Linked DNA regions of Homo sapiens: regions 1 and 3 are each linked to region 2. The links are contacts of gene promoters, found by promoter capture Hi-C in blood cells and fetal thymus (Javierre and others, 2016). All regions are on one chromosome and are shown on one strand. Each heading gives the region's core, a stretch centred on a gene start or on the middle of the fragment in contact. The rest is flanking DNA. Distances are from core to core; before and after follow the strand shown. Region 1 overlaps TXNDC16 (thioredoxin domain containing 16). Region 2 holds the start of RTRAF (RNA transcription, translation and transport factor). Region 3 has its middle 22 kb from the start of PTGER2.

Region 1 (3,177 bases), core at 609-3,108, 490 kb after region 2:
CCAGCAATCCCACTACTGGTTACCCAAAGGAAAATAAGTCACTATATGAAAAAGATACTTGCACACGTTTATAGCAGCACAATTTGCAATTGCAAAAACATGGAACCAACCCAAATGCTCATCAATCAACGAGTGGACAAAGACACTGTGGTGTGTGTGTGTGTGTGTATATATATATATGTATATATATATATATATATATATATAATGGAATACTACTCAGCCACAAAAAGGAATGAATTAATGGCATTTGCAGTGACCAGGATGAGACTGGAGACTATTATTCTAACTCAGGAATGAAAAACCAACCATCACATGTTCTCACTCATATTTGGGAGCTAAGCTATGAGGATGCAAGGGCATAAGAAAGACAAAATGGACTGTGGGGACTCAAGGGGAAAGGGTGGGAATAGGGTAAGAAATACAAGGCCACAAATTGGGTGCAGCACAGTATATACTGCTCAGGTGATGAGTGCACCAATATCTCACAAATCACCACCAAAGAATTTACTCATGTAACCAAACACCACCTGTTCCCCAGTAACCTATGGAAATAAAAAAAAATTTTAAAAAAGGAATGGTACACTTAGGGTTGAGTGTCTAGAATCAATTTCTTGAGTTTTCAAAAGCTTCAATGTATAAATAAGTTGTACATCAGTACATAGTTTCCACTAAATGAAACAAAATTTATGAAACTCTATTATTCATTTATCCAACAATTATTGAAAACCAGATATTCTGCAATGTAAGGCAATATGCCAAGCCCAGTAAGCTGATATAAGGCACACTACCTAACCATAAGGAACTTACATCAAGCACACCTAATCCATTATTACCTCTCTTACTAACAGGCCTCCCTCATTTTCCCCTATGTCTTTGCTGAGATGGTAGCACAGATATTTTCAGTTAAAGTCCATTCCTTGGATCTTTATTTGCCCACTATTAAATGAGGTTTCACAGGATGGTTAACATAAAAAGATCCTGGATATTAAAAAGCATTCCATCCATGAGGAGTAAACTATATAGTTTCAAGGACACGGGGATTTTTGATCTCTCATTAGACCATGAGACTGGGTCTTGAATCTGCCAAATTTTTATTTCCAGTATTTAACTGGAGTAACTGGCACAGAGTAGGCACTCATAAATGCTTGCTGAATGACTGACTTAAACCAAAAAGGTTGTTGTATTAACTGTGTAGCCACAAGTACTAAATACATAGGCTTTCTACTTTCTACTAAAGACAGTTCTATGAAGACAAATCAAAGTGAATGCTCCTAAGCACTCTTGAAACTCCTGGTTCATTAACTTAACCCTGGAGACACAAACATAGTAACTGAAATTTTATGTGGTTTTCTATATTTTTTGCATGACATAGTTTTACAAATAGCTACAGCTTAGAATCAGAATAATAAGCATGCATAGCACAGTACACTACCTTTCAGTTTAACTGCCACATCAATATAGGATTGCAAAAATGCCATGGATACTGCTTGCCCTATATGAAAATTAAAAATTCAACAGATATTACATGTATATCTACAAAGCATCCACACTGATATGTAACAAATATACAGATTTATGAGGTTTCCCAAAATTATTGTTAATCAGAAATATTCTACTATACATTTCTCAACATAGTCCAACCACTTAAGAGAGTTTCAAATGCAACTGATTTTCCGCACTTGTACTGCAAGGAATATAGCTAAATGGCTATGATTTGAAGATAAAAGCAATATACTTACTATAAATCTATAATAACTGTTAATATGTTAAAAATCATTAGCGTGAGTCACAATTTTTCAAAATTAATGAACATCTAGTTTAATCATTCACCTTTAATTTGTAAATCAGATATAAATCAATTGCACAATCCCAGAATCAGAAGTAAATGCTTCAATGCACACAGTCTACTTGAGACATACGAAAGCAATTTCATTTTACAACATGCAATACATGGAATGCCAAAAATTAAATCTGGGTTTTTAAATGTCCTAATATGTAACAGTCCTCTAAAGGCTCATACTCACAACCAGCATAGAAGAGTACTATGCTGTCAGAAGCCATCACTGTTGCATTAAATGTTTCTTCTGTTAGTTCCACTGTAAGTTCCAAAGGTAATTTTCTCTTCCTATCTCTGAAAACAGTTTCTGCCACTTCATCATCCTGAACATCTAAAATGTTGGAAAAGAAATTAATTTAAATATTGATGTATAATGAAAACTATTTAAGCTCTTCTCATAGGAAGCATATAATAATTCAGTACTTTATACAAACTTTTGAATTCATCCTATCTTAATAGTTAGGATGCATGATATTTAGAAAACTTTGCAGTTGCTTAACTGACTCTGAGATGCTTCCTGACCTAGAAGTTGGGAAGTTTTAGTCAATTTCAAAATTAAAATTTGTTCTACAAAGAATATTAATAGTGCCATTTTGTTTATTTTGCCTCTACTATATGCCAAGCATTATGACAGGCACTAGGAAAACTGGTAAACAAAACAGACATAGTCCTGACCACATGGAACTTCTATCTATGGAAAAGTCAGATAAACTGATCACTGAATAAATATATAATTATAAATTATGATCAATTTATGAAGAAAGGTAAAGGATACACTGAGAGATTATAACAGGGCTATTTAGATTGGGAAGCCCAAAGTCTGCCAGGTAGAGAATCAAGAAAAGAATGTTTTAGACAAAGACAATAACATATACGAAAGCTCTGAGACATAAAAGAGTTGAGCACATACAAGGCTGAGGGAAGGCAAATTTGACTAAGACAAGATGGGGCTGAAAGAATAAACAGCATGAGAAAACTCTAGGCTAGGCAGTGGCTAGATCATAAGAGGTCACATGAGCCAAGAAGTCTGGATTTTATCCAAAAAGCCTCAAGTTATGAGTGGATTCTGAATATGTGAAACCCTTCCTTTAGATAGACCAATCAATAGACTGATAGATTCATCCATCCATCCATCCATCCAACCATCCATGTACCTTCAAAAATACATTTGGATTCATAAATATTCTGTTGGAAGTTTGTAGAGATTGTACGGTAAGACAGATGGAGCATATAACTTGATTAAAGGATAAAGCTTCTTTATGAACATGAAAACATGAACATGAAAAGGAAAATAAAACTCAGGTAGGCAGAGAAGAAAGGCAGTGGTGGCATAAAGA
Region 2 (3,357 bases), core at 221-2,720:
GAACTATCCTCCCACCTCAGCCTCCCAAAGTGCTGGGACTACAGGCATGAGCTTCTGCACCTGGCCTGTACTTCTTTGTAGTACATTTTATATTTCTTGTAATTCACTTACTCTTTCTAACTCCAGATTATAAGTATTTATTTACACATCTATATTTGTCATTATACTTAAACTTCCTGAAAATAGAGACTGTAGTTTACTCATTTGTATGCTCCTCAGATCCTAAGTGTTTAATTAAAATCTTAATTAATGAAATGAAATGAAACGTACATAGTTGGCTTACCCCCAAGAATTTCAATAGCTCCCCTTAGCTTGCCATGAGAGGCTTTTCCTTATCAGAGCCCTGCCTTTGTCTATAGTCTTATCAGCTGTCATTCCCTCTCACCCTCCAGCCCCTATAAGCTCTAGTCCCTCTGGGCCATGCTGTTGCTCATTTCTTGCCTTTATACATCCTCTTCCCTCAAACTAGGTTACCCTTTTGACTGCATGGTGAATGCCTCACCATCTTCAAGCCTTAGTTTATACTTATCTGTTTATTGTTTCCCTCATTAGCCTTTTAAACTCCATGAAAATAGGGGCCTGGTCTGTCTTGTTCACTGCTCTCTCTCCACTGTCTGAAAAGCAAGTAGAGACTGGATCAGGAAAGATCTTAAATACAATAAGGAGTTTTGATTATTTCTAGGGGGTAACCAGGAACCACTAAAACATAAGCAGAGAAAGTTATGTACAGGTTTTTGCTTTAGAAAAATCTCTCTCATCGCTGTATGGAGGAATGGTTTGGAGAACGCAGGACTGGCCCTAAGAAATCAATCAGATAATTAGAGTAAGCAAAAGTGATGAGGATCTGATCTGTGGCTGTATCAGTGGGGTCCGAAAGGAGGTGAGGGATTTGAGAGTTAGGAGAGACAGAATGGCAGGAATTGGTGACCTACTGGATGCTGTGACCGAGGGTGAGGGGGAGTGAGGGACGATCTCGGCTTCAGATTTCACTCTGGCTGAGGATATCTGGAACGATCGCATCGTATTAACAATTGTATGTTTACCTGTGGATCACTCCCAATTAGTCTGAAAGCATCTTACTATAGGGACCTTGCTTTGTAGTCTTTGTATTACCAGTGTTAGAAGAGCACCTGTTATGTAGGAGGAGTAATAAAATGAATGAATGCACTCAAAACACTAAACAGTAATTCTGTAATCCAACGGGAGGTACAGCGAATACCAAAAGCCTACATATACTATTCTCTGCATGCTATAGCAAGAAAGAAAGGAAAGTGGCTTCCCGGTGGTTTTCTGCCTATTGTACAACCAGGAAGCTGACAATAAAGTTTATTTGAGCGTCGACGTGCGCCGACGTGGCCCCGCCTCCCCAGCCGGAGCCGCGATTGGTGGGCATTTGCCGGCGGCCACCGCTTTTAAGCCACGATTGGCGAAGGCCGCCGTCATTTCGGAGCGACTCAGCGCCTGCCCGCCCTCTCGCCGCGTCGCCGGTGCCTGCGCCTCCCGCTCCACCTCGCTTCTTCTCTCCCGGCCGAGGCCCGGGGGACCAGAGCGAGAAGCGGGGACCATGTTCCGACGCAAGTTGACGGCTCTCGACTACCACAACCCCGCCGGCTTCAACTGCAAAGGTGAGGCGGCGGCCTCAGCCCGGCCGCGTGTCCCTGACCTGGGCGGAGGTCCCAGCCTCAGTGCCCGCACCCCACCTCCCCGTCGGGACCCTCGGCGGCCTGGTTTCCGCCGGCAGCCTCCGGGCCCCTCTCCTCTGGGTCGCCACGTACCTCGGCTCTTCGCCGCCCCTTCCCGCCTTTAAAGCCCTCTCACCTACTCCTGTCTCGGCATGTTACTTTCTGCACTTGCTTAACTCCAAGCATCACGTAACTACCTTCTCTGTACATAAAAGGGAGAGCATTCGTCTTTCTCACTCACTATTCAACTCCATGGTTCCCTGGGTAATTAGGCGATACCTTGAGCACCTGCTAATTATGGGCCAGCGCGGTGCTGGATTCTGAGGAAGGTGCTGAGTAACTTGAAGACTAGTTCACTGCCTGCCAGGAGCTAAAGGGACGAGGGGTGGAAGCAATCAGAACCCACTGAGCAGTTTGAGACAGTACACAATGAAATCAGGACCGATCACAGTGGGAGGGTAAGCGCGTGTAGTAACGGGCTAGTTGTGTTATGTGGTGTTGCAAAAAAGTTAATAGCAGATGAGTGGGAAGGTTGAATTGTGAATACAAAGGTATTTGGGATTTTACAGCATTAGAATTTTAAAAAGTAATAACGTTGCTACTCACTGTAACTAAACTGCTACCCACCACTACTCGTTTCCTTTGTATAGTTGTGGCCTGTGATAGACTGGTAAGTTTGAAAGTGATCAAGTATAACTTGTGATACTCAGACCACTGTGTAATTCTCAAGACCTTATAATGGAAGCTTGAATTTGACTCACAAATTGAAAATAATTTCTAAGCAGGATGACAGTGTTTTGTTGATCGCCTGTAGAAGCATATCAAATTATAATCTATTGTTTTTCTACTTTAACAAAAAAGTATCAGTGACAATAGAGCCTTGTTCTGGATTGGAATCTTTGAGTCTCAATGTTCTTATCTGTAAAATGGGATATTACCTACCTCAAAAGAGGTATGGGGAGGATTAAACGAAACAATTATGCACTTAATGTGCAGTTAACATTCCATGACAACAGTTGTCACAGTGTCTTTTTTGTCATTTAATTTCTTTTACTTATTATTTTGTTGTATATTTTACTTTATTACTTTGCTATAAATTTAACCTTGCCCTCCTTCCCCTTTCTGTCCGCAAAGGAACTGGAATATTAATATGTAACACTTAAATAGCAAAACTATGTGCCAGGCACTGTTTTTATCCGTATTTATTTTATTTAAGAAACTTCTTAAATAAAACAACTTCTTTTAATCTTCATAACTCTATGAGGTAAGTTCTATTAGCACCCTCATTTTGTAGCTGAAGAGTCTGAGGCACAGAAAATGTGGGTGATTATCCCAAGTTCACACAACCAGTAAGTATCTGGACCCAGGATTTGAACAGATCATTGTTAATCTGTACTTTCAACTCCAGAATCTGTACTTTCAACTCCCTCTTTTGGTTCAATTAATTTAGTATTTTGAAGTTAAGAAAATTCCACAAGAACATATATCTGAACATATACCTGAGAAGGAGGTATTTTATGTAGTGCTTCTAGTTATTTATGTGATATTTTTTATTGCAGATGAAACAGAATTTAGAAACTTCATCGTTTGGCTTGAAGACCAGAAAATCAGGCACTACAAGATTGAAGACAGAGGGAATTTAAGAAACATCCACAGCAGCGACTGGCCCAAGTTC
Region 3 (3,117 bases), core at 29-2,528, 300 kb after region 2:
TACATACTAAATTGTGTGTACAACATGCATATGCAGTTAAATAGTAATTATAAAGTAAATATCCATGTAGACATTGTGCAGGTCAAGAAACGGAATACTGCCAGTACCAGAAGCCTCCTGTGTGCCTTCCCTGATCACAGTCCCTCCCCCTCACCGAGATAAACCCTGTTCCGACTTTTAAGAAATCATGCTTTTGCTTTTCTTTATCTTACCCCATGTGTGCATCATAATATATGTATTCAGTGTCTTTTTCTCAAGCTTAGTAATGTGTCTTAGCTTGGATTCCTCACATGCAGTCTAGGACAAAGAGTCAGGTGCATGTGACCTGTGGAGCTCCTGCTTTCGGGAGAAAAGCGGTGAAAGCAGCAGGACAGGGCAGGGACGGAATCAAGGCAAGGATGAGGTCTCAGCTCTGCCTGATCTCAAGGGGGGGCTCTGGAGCTTGAATAGCACCACACTGTTGGTCCCACCAAGACACTTGTGAAAGCCTGTTACTAAGTTTTTGGCCCACGTGTTCCCGGTGGTACCCTTTGAGCCAAGGGCAATTTTCCAGAAAAGGGGCCAGCTCTGAGCCATTAGAAACCATAACCCACAGGGGCTGGGGGCAATGGCTTGGAAAAGGAGATCTGGATGATATTCACCATATAGTATGTTTGTGAGATTCATACTTTTTGTACGTGTAGCTGAGTTCCTATATTTTCATGGCCAAATAGTATTCCATGGTATGAATATATCGCATGCTGTCAATGGACATTTGGGGTATTTCTAGATTTGCCTACTAGAAATAATGCTGTTTTATGATTCAAGGGGCAAAAAAAGAAAAGAAAAATAAACAATGCTGTTTTAACTGTTCTTATTATGTCTTGTGTTGGACATGTGTACGAGTATCTCTAAGGCATACATCTAGGAGTGGGATTGCAGGGTTATAGGATATGTGCACCTTTTATTATATCATAAAAATTGTTTTCCAATTTACACTAACACCAGCATTGTTTTCATTGCTCTACATCTTTGCTAACACTTGTATTGTTAGATTTTTAGTTTTAGCCATTTTGGTAAGTTTGTAATGGTATTTCATTGAGGTTTTAATGTATTTTTCATATTAATAATGATGATATTGCACACCTTCTCATACATTTATTGGCTGTTTGGAAATTCTAGTTTATAAAGCTTCTGTTCAAGTCTTTTGCCTTTTTAAAAAATATAATGTTTGTTTTTCATATTGATTTATAGATGTCCTAACTACTGTTACTTTGTCAGTTTTATGTGTTGGAAAAATCTTTTCCCATTCTTTAATCTGTCTTTTCACTCTCTTTTTGATGACTTTTAATTAATAGAAATTTTTATTTTATTAGAATCTAATTTCTTAAACTTTTCTTTTATGGCTAAGCTTTTCATGTTTTATTTGAGAAATGTTTTCTAAACCTAAAATCATGAAATATTTTTCTATACTACTTTATAAAAGCTTTATAGTTTTGCCTTTCACTCTTGAATTTGAACCCACCTATGATTTATTTGGTGTATGGTGTGATATAAATATCCAGTTTTGTACTTTCACCATATAAATAACCACTTGTCCAAGTATCATTTATCAAAAAGTTTATCTTTTCCCCATTGATCTTAAATATCATATCTGTCACATATGAAGTTTCCATATTTGTATGTTTGTTTCTATTCCATTGGCCTGTTGTCTTAGGTACATTAATGCTTCCACCTAGCTCTCTTTGAAGGGGGCCCTTTTAATCTTAGTGCTTTAGTTCCACCAAAACCTGCTGGGATTTTCACTGGAATTGCACTGAATCTATTGATTAATTTTGTATACTTTTCAATTTATTTATGTCCTTTTCAATGTCTCTTTATAAAAGTTTCAAAATTTTACTGAAGTATAACATGCATACAGAGAAATATACGAATTATAAGTAGACAGTGAAATGAATTTTCACAAAGCAATACACCTAAGTTACTAATATCCAGATTAAAAAAAAAAAAAACAAAAAACACAGAATCCCAAACCCCTCCAAAATCCCTTTTTTAGCTACTGACTTCACCCACAAGAGGAAACCACCTTGAGTTCTAATACATGAATTTTGTCCACTTTTGAACTTTATATAAATGGAATCAGTATGTACTTGTTTTCTTTCACTCAGCAGTATGCTTGTGAAATCCGTCCGTGTTGTTCAGAGTTATATTTTGTTTATTCTCTTTGCTGTAGTGTTCTACTGTACGAATTCCACCGTATGAATTTACCACAATATATTAATCTATCTATTGCAGATGGACATTTGAGTTATTTCTAATTGAACCTATTACAAATAGTAATAAGCAGCCGGGCGCACTGGCCCATGCCTGTAATCCCAGCATTTTGGGAGGCCAAGGTGGGTGGATCACCTGAGGTCAGGAGTTTGAGAACAGCCTGGCCAACATGGTGAAAACCCGTCTCTACTAAAAATACAAAAAAATAAAGTTAGCCAGGTGTGGTGGCAGGCACCTGTAATCCCAGCTACTCAGGAGGCTGAGGCAAGAGAATCGCTTGAACTCGGGAAGCGGAGGTTGCAGTGAGCTAAGATCACGCTACTGAACTCCAGCCTGGGCAACAAGAGCGAAACTCTGTCTCAAAGAAAAAAAAAAAAAGTAATAAGCATCCTTTCACACATCTTTTGGGAACATACATATGCATTTCTATTAAGGATATAACTGAATGTAATTGCTAGGTCATAAGTTTTGCCCTTAGTAAATACTGCCAAGGGGTCTTCCAAAGTGGATTGTGTCAGTTCATACTTCCACAGCAATGTATAAAGGCCGAGTTGATCCACATGCTCATCAATACTTCCTATTGTCTTTCTAGTTCGGTTTAGCCGTTCTGGGGGTATCGAGTGGTATCACATTGTGGCTTTAATGTGCATATCCCTGATCCACACCTTTTCCTATGTTTATTGTCCTTTGCATATCCCTGTCTGTGAAGGATCTGTCCAGGTCTTTTCTCCACTTTTCTATTCAGTTATCTGTCTTTTGCTTATTGAATTTCAAGAGTTTCATTATCTGAATCTATTAGGTTCTTGACTTTGTGACACTACATGGCAAAATTTTGCCTAGTGTGGAAATCCTAATGCATCCAAA

What was found. The method cuts DNA at HindIII sites, captures the fragments that hold promoters and counts their contacts. A CHiCAGO score of 5 or more calls a contact.
Region 1: a contact is called between a fragment that was not itself captured here and the fragment with the promoter of RTRAF in region 2, in 3 of 17 cell types (total CD8 T cells, naive CD8 T cells and total CD4 T cells). The highest score is 7.4, in total CD8 T cells.
Region 3: a fragment that was not itself captured here is called in contact with the fragment with the promoter of RTRAF in region 2 in 2 of 17 cell types (megakaryocytes and total CD8 T cells); the score reaches 5.4 in megakaryocytes.

The regions. Positions count from the first base shown.
Region 1 is chr14:52,480,795-52,483,971 of GRCh38, forward strand. It overlaps TXNDC16 (thioredoxin domain containing 16), which reads right to left. Exons shown (of 21, transcript NM_020784.3): 13 at 2,028-2,171; 14 at 1,436-1,495. Among named protein-coding and RNA genes, the nearest start is that of TXNDC16, 70 kb to the right of the region's middle. The HindIII fragment of the contact is 2,463 bases long and covers 628-3,090 here.
Region 2 is chr14:51,988,076-51,991,432 of GRCh38, forward strand. RTRAF (RNA transcription, translation and transport factor) reads left to right here and starts at 1,471. Exons shown (of 8, transcript NM_016039.3): 1 at 1,471-1,625; 2 at 3,242-3,357. The coding sequence starts at 1,565. LOC105370497 (a long non-coding RNA gene) reads right to left here and starts at 2,509. Exons shown (of 3, transcript XR_007064166.1): 1 at 2,444-2,509; 2 at 1-614. RefSeq lists enhancers at 1,256-1,550, 1,891-1,950. The HindIII fragment of the contact is 14,873 bases long and covers 1-2,425 here.
Region 3 is chr14:52,291,241-52,294,357 of GRCh38, forward strand. No RefSeq gene overlaps it. Among named protein-coding and RNA genes, the nearest start is that of PTGER2, 22 kb to the right of the region's middle. The HindIII fragment of the contact is 220 bases long and covers 1,169-1,388 here.